2 separate regions of the Homo sapiens genome follow, and region 1 is linked to region 2. The links are contacts of gene promoters, found by promoter capture Hi-C in human tissues and cell types (Jung and others, 2019). All regions are on one chromosome and are shown on one strand. Each heading gives the region's core, a stretch centred on a gene start or on the middle of the fragment in contact. The rest is flanking DNA. Distances are from core to core; before and after follow the strand shown.

The links. Contacts are between HindIII fragments. The study calls those that stand out against the background at their distance.
Region 1: a fragment that was not itself captured here is called in contact with the fragment with the promoter of POU3F3 in region 2 in 3 of the 25 tissues and cell types used here (neural progenitor cells, small bowel and thymus).

The regions. Positions count from the first base shown.
Region 1 is chr2:104,933,679-104,938,163 of GRCh38, reverse strand. MRPS9-AS2 (MRPS9 antisense RNA 2) reads left to right here. Exons shown (of 3, transcript NR_110603.1): 3 at 1,399-1,923. Among named protein-coding and RNA genes, the nearest start is that of DALIR, 28 kb to the right of the region's middle. The HindIII fragment of the contact is 5,964 bases long and covers 1-4,485 here.
Region 2 is chr2:104,850,893-104,855,565 of GRCh38, reverse strand. It overlaps POU3F3 (POU class 3 homeobox 3), which reads right to left and starts at 1,451. Exons shown (of 1, transcript NM_006236.3): 1 at 1-1,451. The coding sequence starts at 55. It overlaps PANTR1 (POU3F3 adjacent non-coding transcript 1), which reads left to right and starts at 4,090. Exons shown (of 4, transcript NR_037883.1): 1 at 4,090-4,254. RefSeq lists enhancers at 1,258-1,847, 4,486-4,673 and a silencer at 3,056-3,105. The HindIII fragment of the contact is 12,067 bases long and covers 1-4,673 here.

The sequences.
Region 1 (4,485 bases), core at 1,674-4,173, 81 kb before region 2:
TTTTCCATTCAGGAATTTAAAAAAATATATTCTTGCTGACAATTCTTAACTTTAAAAAATATTAAACATTTTAATCATACATATAATATATGTCTTCACTGTGTAATTTCCATCAGTCAATAGATTTAATTATAATAAACAAATAAATGTACTTACAATAAGCAAAAAACTGTGGTCCACTGGCTTATTGAAAAAGATTAGTTAGAAGAAACCAGATAAATTCACACTTCTAGGAATTTAAGCTCAAAATTTCAAGCACCTCTATTTTTTTCTGAATTGTCACCTTTTCCAGGGACTGATCCTTTCTCAATAAATCATCCTCTGACCTTGGTGTTGAGATTGTCATGGGGCTTCCACTCTCAGGATGTCAAGTTTGGTCATATTCTTTAGGATTCTATTATGGCCACATTGCACTTCTAACCACAGTAAATAATTTAAAACCCAAATTGAAAATGATATATTCCTCATCAACTAATATTTGGAAAATATACTTATTAAATGCACAACTTTTGTACAATTTCTATCTGCTCTTTATGTCCCACTTTCTTTCCAGAAAACATATTCTGCACTGGTTTTAAAATCACATGATAAGATTTCTAATCTTTGAGCAAAAGTCCTCGCCCTTTATATTTGGAAATGGGTTGATACTCTCATCCCTCACCCATGGAAAGTTTGCAATATAAAATTTTAAAAAATACTTTATTTAAAATAACCTTCCAGCAGCTGGCCTAGTCTTCTATGTTTAGATATTAGAAAACACTTGAAAAGCACTTTCACTTAGTTAAAAAGGAAAACTAGTCAAAGATAATAATAACAACCTTTTAAACAAGAAAAGAATACGGAGAACACCAAACAGGCATGCATTGGGTTGTAAAAGCCTTTTTTTTCTCCCCTAGTTAAGGATAACTCTAAAAATATTGTGTATACCCACCTATGGTTTCCTGAGGACTTTCCTCCCTGTCTGCTAAAAAGCAAAAGTTAGGAAATTATGTCTGATTTGTGTCAAATGTGTTCCAAAGAATCATGAGGCCTTCCTTTCACTGTGAGGAATATTCATGTAGGAAGTCGTCCTCTAAGCAGTTGTCACCTTTTCTTACATGGTATTCCCAACTGCAATGCCAGGCAGTGAGGGCTTTGCCGCAGTAGGAGCGGCTCCAGTTCCTGGGTGAGCCCAGGGCCTGCCCAGACGTCGGCCATCTCTGCAGGTGTATGGGCTGCGGCCCTAGGCAAGACTGTCTCTGCCTTCCCCAAAGGTCTCTGAGCCCTTCTGCGGCCCAGATGGTTCCAATTTGAGGCCTACATTCAGTGCTGGAGCTGTATTGAGTTTCTTCCCTGAAACCAACAAAACCTGCTTCAGCATTTTGCTTGGATTAAAATATTTGTCCCTTTTTTTCACAGGGCAGAAGGAGAACTCCTGAAGCCTCCGAAGGAAGGAAATCATTACAGGGCCCTACAGAAGTAGGTCATGTGCTACAGCTGCTCATAGTTTAAGAGGAAGAAACATGGGATCTCAAACCTGGAACACGACTCTTTCAAAATGCTTGTGAGCAACCCAAGAAAAACATCCTCCTGAGGCTTATCTAATAACCATGATCTCTAATCGTCTCAATGTGTGCTCATGTTTCCTTAGGAGTTTGCACCCACTTCTCAGAGCTAACGAGATGCCGAAACAGAACACAGAAAAAAGTAATGAAGGAGATTTAATAGTTTGTGTTAAAGCTAATATGGTCCATTAGGGGCTGTCATTTTTATAAACAGTGAGGATACGTTACCCTCTTCTTTGGTGTAAAGTCATTCCGTGCAGGACCTGTAAACATTCAGTAATGATCTGTAGAACATGCATGAACGACAATTAAAGCACCACTTGAAAAGTCTGTTTTCCTCACATATTTGTTTTCTTGCTAAATAAACTTGTAAAGTTCATACATGTGTACGCATATGCTTACATTATAAAAAAAGTGTGCATTTCATTAAGAACATCTACGAACAGATATAAGTGTTTTTGGTTCCCATTAGCTTGAGAAATATCAGAAGTGATTAGTTAAATGAGGAGCATAGGTTCTGTTTTTTAGTGCATACTATAATAATAAAACAACCACTCTTTTATGGTAGCTTAGCAAGACAAAATTATAGTTCACAATGTCATGAAAGGCATGATTACAACCTTTGAAAGTTACAAGTAAAAAAGCTTCTATAAAACCTATCTGTTGCCAAAAAATTATGTTCTACAGTGATTCAGATATATTTCTGAAATTTATTTTTTAATTGTGGCTGATACCAAGCAGAGGCAAGACTTGAGAACTTGCATTCTTTTTGAGACTCACTGAATGTACTTGAGAAAATAAAATCAGATTGACTCCCTCTGACTTTGTAAATAGAGTTTGCTCCCTTGCTTTCTCTCTCTCTTTGAAAGGACAAATGATTCCTTTTTATAGGTTTTAGGTTTGGCAGAATTTGATTAAAAAAAAATTCTTACAACCACCTAACATTTTCTGCTGCAAACAGGAGTGGGTAGGTAGTAGGGGATAAAGAAAGGTCCAGATTAAAATTATTCTAGTTATTCACATAGACTTGAAAACTCCAGTGATGAGTTTTGAGAAGTAGCCTTAGGCAGAACTTGCTATCAAAGAAGGCCAGGAACAAAAGACATTTAAAAGCAGATTACGAGTCTCTCCTAACAAAGCAAAATCAAATCACTGATCAATAAGTGCAGCTGGGTTAAAATTGTTTCCTTAAAAAGGCTTTAAAAACTTTTTTGAGTGATAAGCTGGAGGCTGACCCTTTTATGCTTTTCAGCAAACTCCTCCTGGAAAAGTCTTTCCCATCTCTTCCAGGGCGGCCTCTTTTGGGATGAGTCTCTCTCTTCTCACTTAACACAAGCAGGCCTTTGGCTGGAAAAGGCTGGCAATGTGGTTTCCAAGAAAAGGAAAGATGCTCTTTGATCTAACTCAAGCCCTCTAAGAGAGTTTAGCTACTAGTCCCAACAGCATAGCTGGATTCCCCATGGTCATCTATGAACTATTTGTGCAATGCCCAAGCTGGAATTACCATTAATGGTGTAAAATCAACTTGAAACCTAAAGAAAATCTTCAACAAAGAAAAGCCCCACACTCCAGGTCACTTAAGCCACAAAAATGTGCTGGGTAGGTTGTGGCTCGCTGTCTAGATCAAGGCCATGTGGACGACGTTGAGGCGTACCTCCCATCGTCAGACGTTAACTCAGATGCCGGCTCTTTCAGTGACTGATTTCAAACAGGGCTTTTAAAAACAAGGGAAGAGGGAAAAAAAAGAAAATCAATGAGCAAGTGGTGTTCAATTTATTCACATATGTTCCAAATGGCACAGAGATAAGCAAAAAGGGTTCTGGTACATTTTTTAATGATTTCATTATCACTAGACAAGAATGGAAAGATCATCCAGATGCTATTGAAAAGATAGAAAAAGAAGATTTAAAAAAAATAAGAATAATATCTTGAATGGTTCCCTGCCCGGATACCTAAACAGTGAAGGCCGACCAATGAGATCTTTGAAGTTAGGTCTATTTGCAAGTCCATTTATTTAAAAAGGAAGGTTGAGATGATGTAGAAAAAAAAAAAGAAAACTTTTAGAAAAATTTGTTCTTGGCCTGGCTGTCCTTTTCTCTGTGTGAGCATCGTTTGCCTGGGGTGGATTGTCATTTGAGCCAGTGATTAAGCAGGGAGGGAGAGTGAAGCAAAGCTACAGTCCCCTTCGGTGGAGCAGGGGCTTGGCCAGTGCCCTTCCTGGGAAGCCTGTATCACACACAGCACACGTGGAGGATGAGGATTATTCCCATTGCAAGGGCTGCCGCTTGAGTCACAGATCTGCCCCTTTTCTTCTCTTGGCTGCTCCTTGTCCATCCATAATAGCGATCTTTGTGTGTCGAATTCTGCACTATTGCAAAGCGCCCTGGCCACTGGGTCTGAAGAAAGCTTTCTCCCTTTTCTGGAGGCTCTCTGAAAAGTGAGCACTCTCCATTGCTTATGTGGAAATGCTTGGCCACCTAAAAAGTGAGTTTATGGTCTCTTTTTAGTTTTATAAAATTATTATTATTTATTGTTAGCTTTTTTAGAGACAGGGTCTCACTCTGTTGCCCAGGTTGGATGCAGAGTGCAGCAGCCTCGAACACCTGGGTTCAAGCTGTCCCCCCGCCTTGGCCTCCCAAGTAGCTGGTACTGCAGCGGCATGCCACGCCCTGCTAAGGTTTATGATCTCTTTATGGGTGTATGTGTGTGTTATGTTTCTAAGTAGATTGTAAGCTTCCTGAAGGTGGGGGCCACAGTCTTCCTGATCAGGTCTATGACCTCCTAATTGTTCAGCAGAAGTTGGTCTGTTGCTGGGTGCATGATAATGAAACAGAATAGACCATGCCCAGGAATGTGCGTATAGGTGCAATTCTTAATCAAGGACGCAAAGCGTGTTTGGCATGACTCAAAGTAATGCCAAAAGTATTGCTCAAAGCAGCGT
Region 2 (4,673 bases), core at 202-2,701:
CGGCCGCGAGCAGGCTGTTCCCCGGCAGGTAGGGGTTAGAAGCCGCCGTGGCCATGCCGCTCCGCTCCCGCCACCCCACCGCCGCCACCACCGCCGCCGCCGCCGCAGCAGCAGCCGCGGCCGCCGCCGCCGCCGCCGCCGCCGCGCCCCCCGCCTCCCGCCTCCTCCCCCCCTCCTTCCCCGCCCCCGCCCCGGGCCCCCGCCGGCCCCGCCGCCTTCGCCGCCTCCTCCTCCGCCGCCGCCTCCGCCCCCGCCGCCGCCGCCGCCGCCGCGGCCCCCGGCTGCAGCTGCAAGGCCGCTCGGCAGGGCGCGGGGGTCGCCGGCCGGCCTTGGTCACCAGCAGCAGCAGCAGCCGCAGGAGCAGCGCTCTGGGGAGGGGGGCTCGCTTCTCGGGGTGCGCTCCGTGGCCACCCCCTTCAGGGGGGGTCGTGGCCGCCCCCCAGCCCCGGCGCGCTGGGCTCGCTCCAGCGGGGCTCGCCGGGCGGGGCGGGGACCTGCACTCGGGGCGCTCTCCCGGGACGCGCGGGCTCCCGCTCCTCCTCCTGTCCTCGGGCGAGCCCGGACTCTGCCCGGTCGCGGGGCTCCGTCCACCTGCTAAGTGAAGGTTTCACGGGAGATAACAAAGAAAGAAGCTGCTCCTTTCTTCCTTAGCCAAATTACGGATGACCAGCAACCGGCCCGCTCCTTCTCTTGTCCGCTCTCTCCTCTCCTCTCCTCTCCTCCTCAGGAACACATTTCACTCGTTTTCCCTTAGAGTAGTAAAACTTTTTCGTCCTTGAAGGCGTGGTGCTGCTGGCTGCTCGCGAGTGCGGAGAGGGGAGGCTGGCTCCTGCTCTCCCCCTCTGGTCCTCTCGTTTCAAGTTTTGTTCTGTCCTAGGAAAACTTCTTGCGATGGTGCATTTCTCTGAAGTTGCTATTGCCGGAGCTCTTGGTTGCCTCTGAAACAAGAGTCCTTTTTCATTCTCCTCGCAACAGTCACAGTCTGATGCGACATCTTTCCTTTTGGGCAGAAATTAGGAAACAAATATAACAAGGAAAAAATTGAACAGGAAAAAAAATGATGTCGAATCGCTCTGTTACCTTGTTGCTGACGGTTGGGGTTGGTGTTTTATTTTTTTCCCAGCAGTTGTCTGGAGAAGGAGGAGGAAGAAGAGTGCATTGGTGGAGGTGGAGGTGTGTGTGTGCATATAGGGGATCGATCCTTGATACACAACAACTCCAGTGGGCACGCTGCACGGCTCGTAGAGTGCACCGACGGCGGGCGCTGGCGCTGGCCGTGCTGGAGCAGAGTTGCAGCAGGAGCTCGCTCTGCGCCCTCGTTCGCGCTCTCTTTCCCTCTCTCACTTTTCCTCTCCCTCCCTCTCTCTCTCTCCCTCTCTCGGGCGCCCGCTCTCGCTCCGATCTGACAGTTCGCTCTCTGTCCCTCCCTCTCAGAGCGGGGACTGTCGAATGTTTACCCTCCGCCGCGAGCGCGCACCCACCACCACACTTTCCCAAATACAAGGAAGTCGAGCACCAGGGCCCCCGCTGATTGGCTACCCGCTGGGTGATTGGCAGGCTCGGAATGACTGGCTCAGGACGCGAGGCCCCCCTTCCGGCCGTTCCGATTGGTTGCTTTTTAATTTAGGCAGAGCGTCGTAGAAGCTGGAAATCTGTCGTCCTCCAGCCTCCCTCCCCCTCACCACTTTCCCCTCCCCGCCCCTCCCCCGCCGCCCCCTCCGCCACATCTTAACTCTTAGTGTCCGGCCCAGACGTTGGCGTTCCCTCGGCGGCTCTGGGCGTTCGCAATAGGTCTGGGCGGGGGGAAGAAAGGGGAGATAAAAGGGAGGGAGGGACGAGAGGGGGGAAGAGAATCAGAAGGAAAACGAAGGGGGAAACATGAAAAATAGCAACCTGCCCACCCCACCTAGTACGCGTCGGGTTGCTCACCCCCTTACCCCCGCCCCGCCAGAGATTTGTAAAGCGCGCGGCACGGATGTACCATTCAAGCTAATACCTATAGACAGATGTGTCCCCAGTGGTTTCAAAGTTTCCTCTTCCCTTCACCAGCCGGCCCCCTTCTCTGATCGGCGGGGGTGGGAAGCGGGGGCTCGCATCGCCAAGAGCTCTGGTCGTGGCCACGCTCCTTGGAAATCCGCCACCGCAACTTTCCGCAGCCGTTGCGCGCCGGCGGCAGCCCCCTTTGTTTAAGTTCTCGGATGCCATCATCTGGGAAACCTGCAGCCCAGGACCAGCGCGGTGCCCGCGCGTGCGAGACGGACCGCTCGCTGCCGCCGCTCCCTGGCTCCTCCACCCCCTCTCTCCCTCCTTCGCTCTCCCTCCCTTCCTCCCTCCTCCCTCCTCTGGGATTCGTGCAAGTAGCGTGCGTGCCCTTGTGAGTTTGGAGGGTGCCGGTCAGCGGAGCCGTGCGATGTATTTGAAAAGCAATCAGTCCGACCTTCCCCCATAGATTCATCGTAAGTGTATTCGACCCCAATGGCTTTAGGAATTCCCTGTGGCAGCAGGAGCCGGGCGAAAGAACCGGGATCGGCTAGCCGCGCCCTTCTCTGCTCCACCGCTTCCTCGTGTGTGTGTGTGTGTGTGTGTGTGTGTGTGTGTGTGATTAGCGGTGGGGGGGTTTGCTCGCTCTCTATTCTTAGGCATGGTGGTGCTTTTTTTTCTTTCCTTTCTGTCTCAGATGGATTTGCGTGGTGGATGGGGCTGGCGGCGACAAATGCTTTCTCAGCTCTAACCCAGCTGAAAGAGTTAAGGGGGATGGGAGGGGGAGTGCACCCGGTAGGCGAGAGAAGCGGGGGTGGGGTGGGGTGGGGTGGGGGGACGCGGCCAAGCGGAAACGCTGCACAGAGGAACCTCAGCGAACCAAGAAAAAAGAGAAAGTGGCAACGAAAACAAGGGCAAATTGAGCCCTCCTCGGGGATTTCCAATGAACTAACCCAACTCGGACATTCAATAAATACATGGCTCTTAATGAGCGTGCGTGTGCGTGCACCCCGCACCCCTAGCTGCGGGTGCGCCCGCTTGCGCCCGCCGCCCCCAGCCAGAGCCTGCATCTGGCAGTCCCGAGCCCGAGCGGCAGCCCAGGACGCAGCCGAGGAGCGGCCGCCGGTGCGCTCCGATTAAAATGTGAACGGGCCTGCCCTTCTCTCCCGCTGTATCGTGCCTCTGCCGAGCGCAGTTAAGTGAACTCAGTGAAAGCAGGAGTTCTCCTGCCCAGCCGCAGCCAGGCAGCCCCCGCGTGATCTCAAGATTAACACTAGACGCGTAGAATTTATGTAGGCTCTTGTCCAGCTCCTGCTTGCCGGGTGAGATACCATCGTAGGTAGGTTTTAGCAAAGCCATTATTGCCAAGGTATAGATACCAAAGGCGGTGGTAACCAAACCCCAAACAGAACGGATTTTTTTCCTCTGCGGCCCCCAAAGGTTGCTTTTTATATTTACGTATGCGTATATGTATATATAAAAGATGGAACACAGATTTCATTGAATCAATCTGAGATCTCCAGGTGCAGACGTTTGAATAGTCGGTGCCAGCACCCCGTGTTTTCCTTTCCTGCCGATTTTGCTTGGATCCGGCTCAAAAACCGAGAGAGTCTCGTGGTTTTGTTTACACTGAATGGGGAGGATAGGAACAGAGCCATGGGGCCGCCTTTCATTAATATACAGTGAGGATTTTGTCTAAATTACTGCTATGAATTTCACAGTACACGCTTTCAAAAGCAGTCTCAGGTGGCCTGATGAAACGTGATAGCGCCTCTGCAAACAGATCCACTTTCTTTCTTTTCAAGAGGGTGTGTGTGCGCGTATGGGAAGCCCCCCAAAACGTTGTGCTCCTCGATAACAGAAACACACTTCTGTTCCGAGGTCTGTCCCCTTCTTCCTCCCCCCCTTTCGTCGTACTTAATTCTCGAATCGCTCCCCGGCCTCTCTCCCCCCTCCACGCTGCCCCACCCCATCCGCCCCCTCCCTTTGCGAGTGTGATTGTTTTGTCTGGAAAAAAAAAATCCAAAGTATATAACAAGGGGAGAACAGTTAGTGCTGATTTTCATTTGCATACATTTTCATATATTTTGGTGAAAATAATAGACTAGTGGAGAGCTGGGCTTCGAGGCGTCAGTGTGAAGGGAAGGCTAAGGACGCATCGGTGCTGGAGAGTTGAGAATATGCCTTCCCCTCCACCCCCAACCCAGTCACCTTATTTGAAAAAAAATTAAAAAACACCTTTTATTTAAAAACCTAACCCTGGAAGTTTGCTCGGTAAGTGTTTTTTCATTTTCTTTCCCTGCTTTCCTCTTCTTTTTCCCCTCCTTTTTGGCTTATTTATTTATGTTCTTGTAGGTTTGGGAGCTTATTTTCATTGCTTGGGACAAGAGAGGGTTCACAGAGCAACTGTCTGAAGGAAGGAAGGAAGGGAAGATGTGTTGGGGGGGAGTTAAAAAAATCCAACCCTGCTAAAATATTACATAAAAAGATGGACTCAGTCCAAAGCCCCACACAGCAAAAGCCACTTTACTTTGGAGGGGTGGGGGGAAAATGCTATTCATTGTAATTGTTGATCGTGAAGGTGGGGTGGGAGGAGGGGGAAGAAGCCCTGGAAAAGAAGTGATTATTAAGCATGCAGTATATAAATATTTCTTGATTGGGATTTTTTATTTTTCCCAGAGAATCAGGACTAG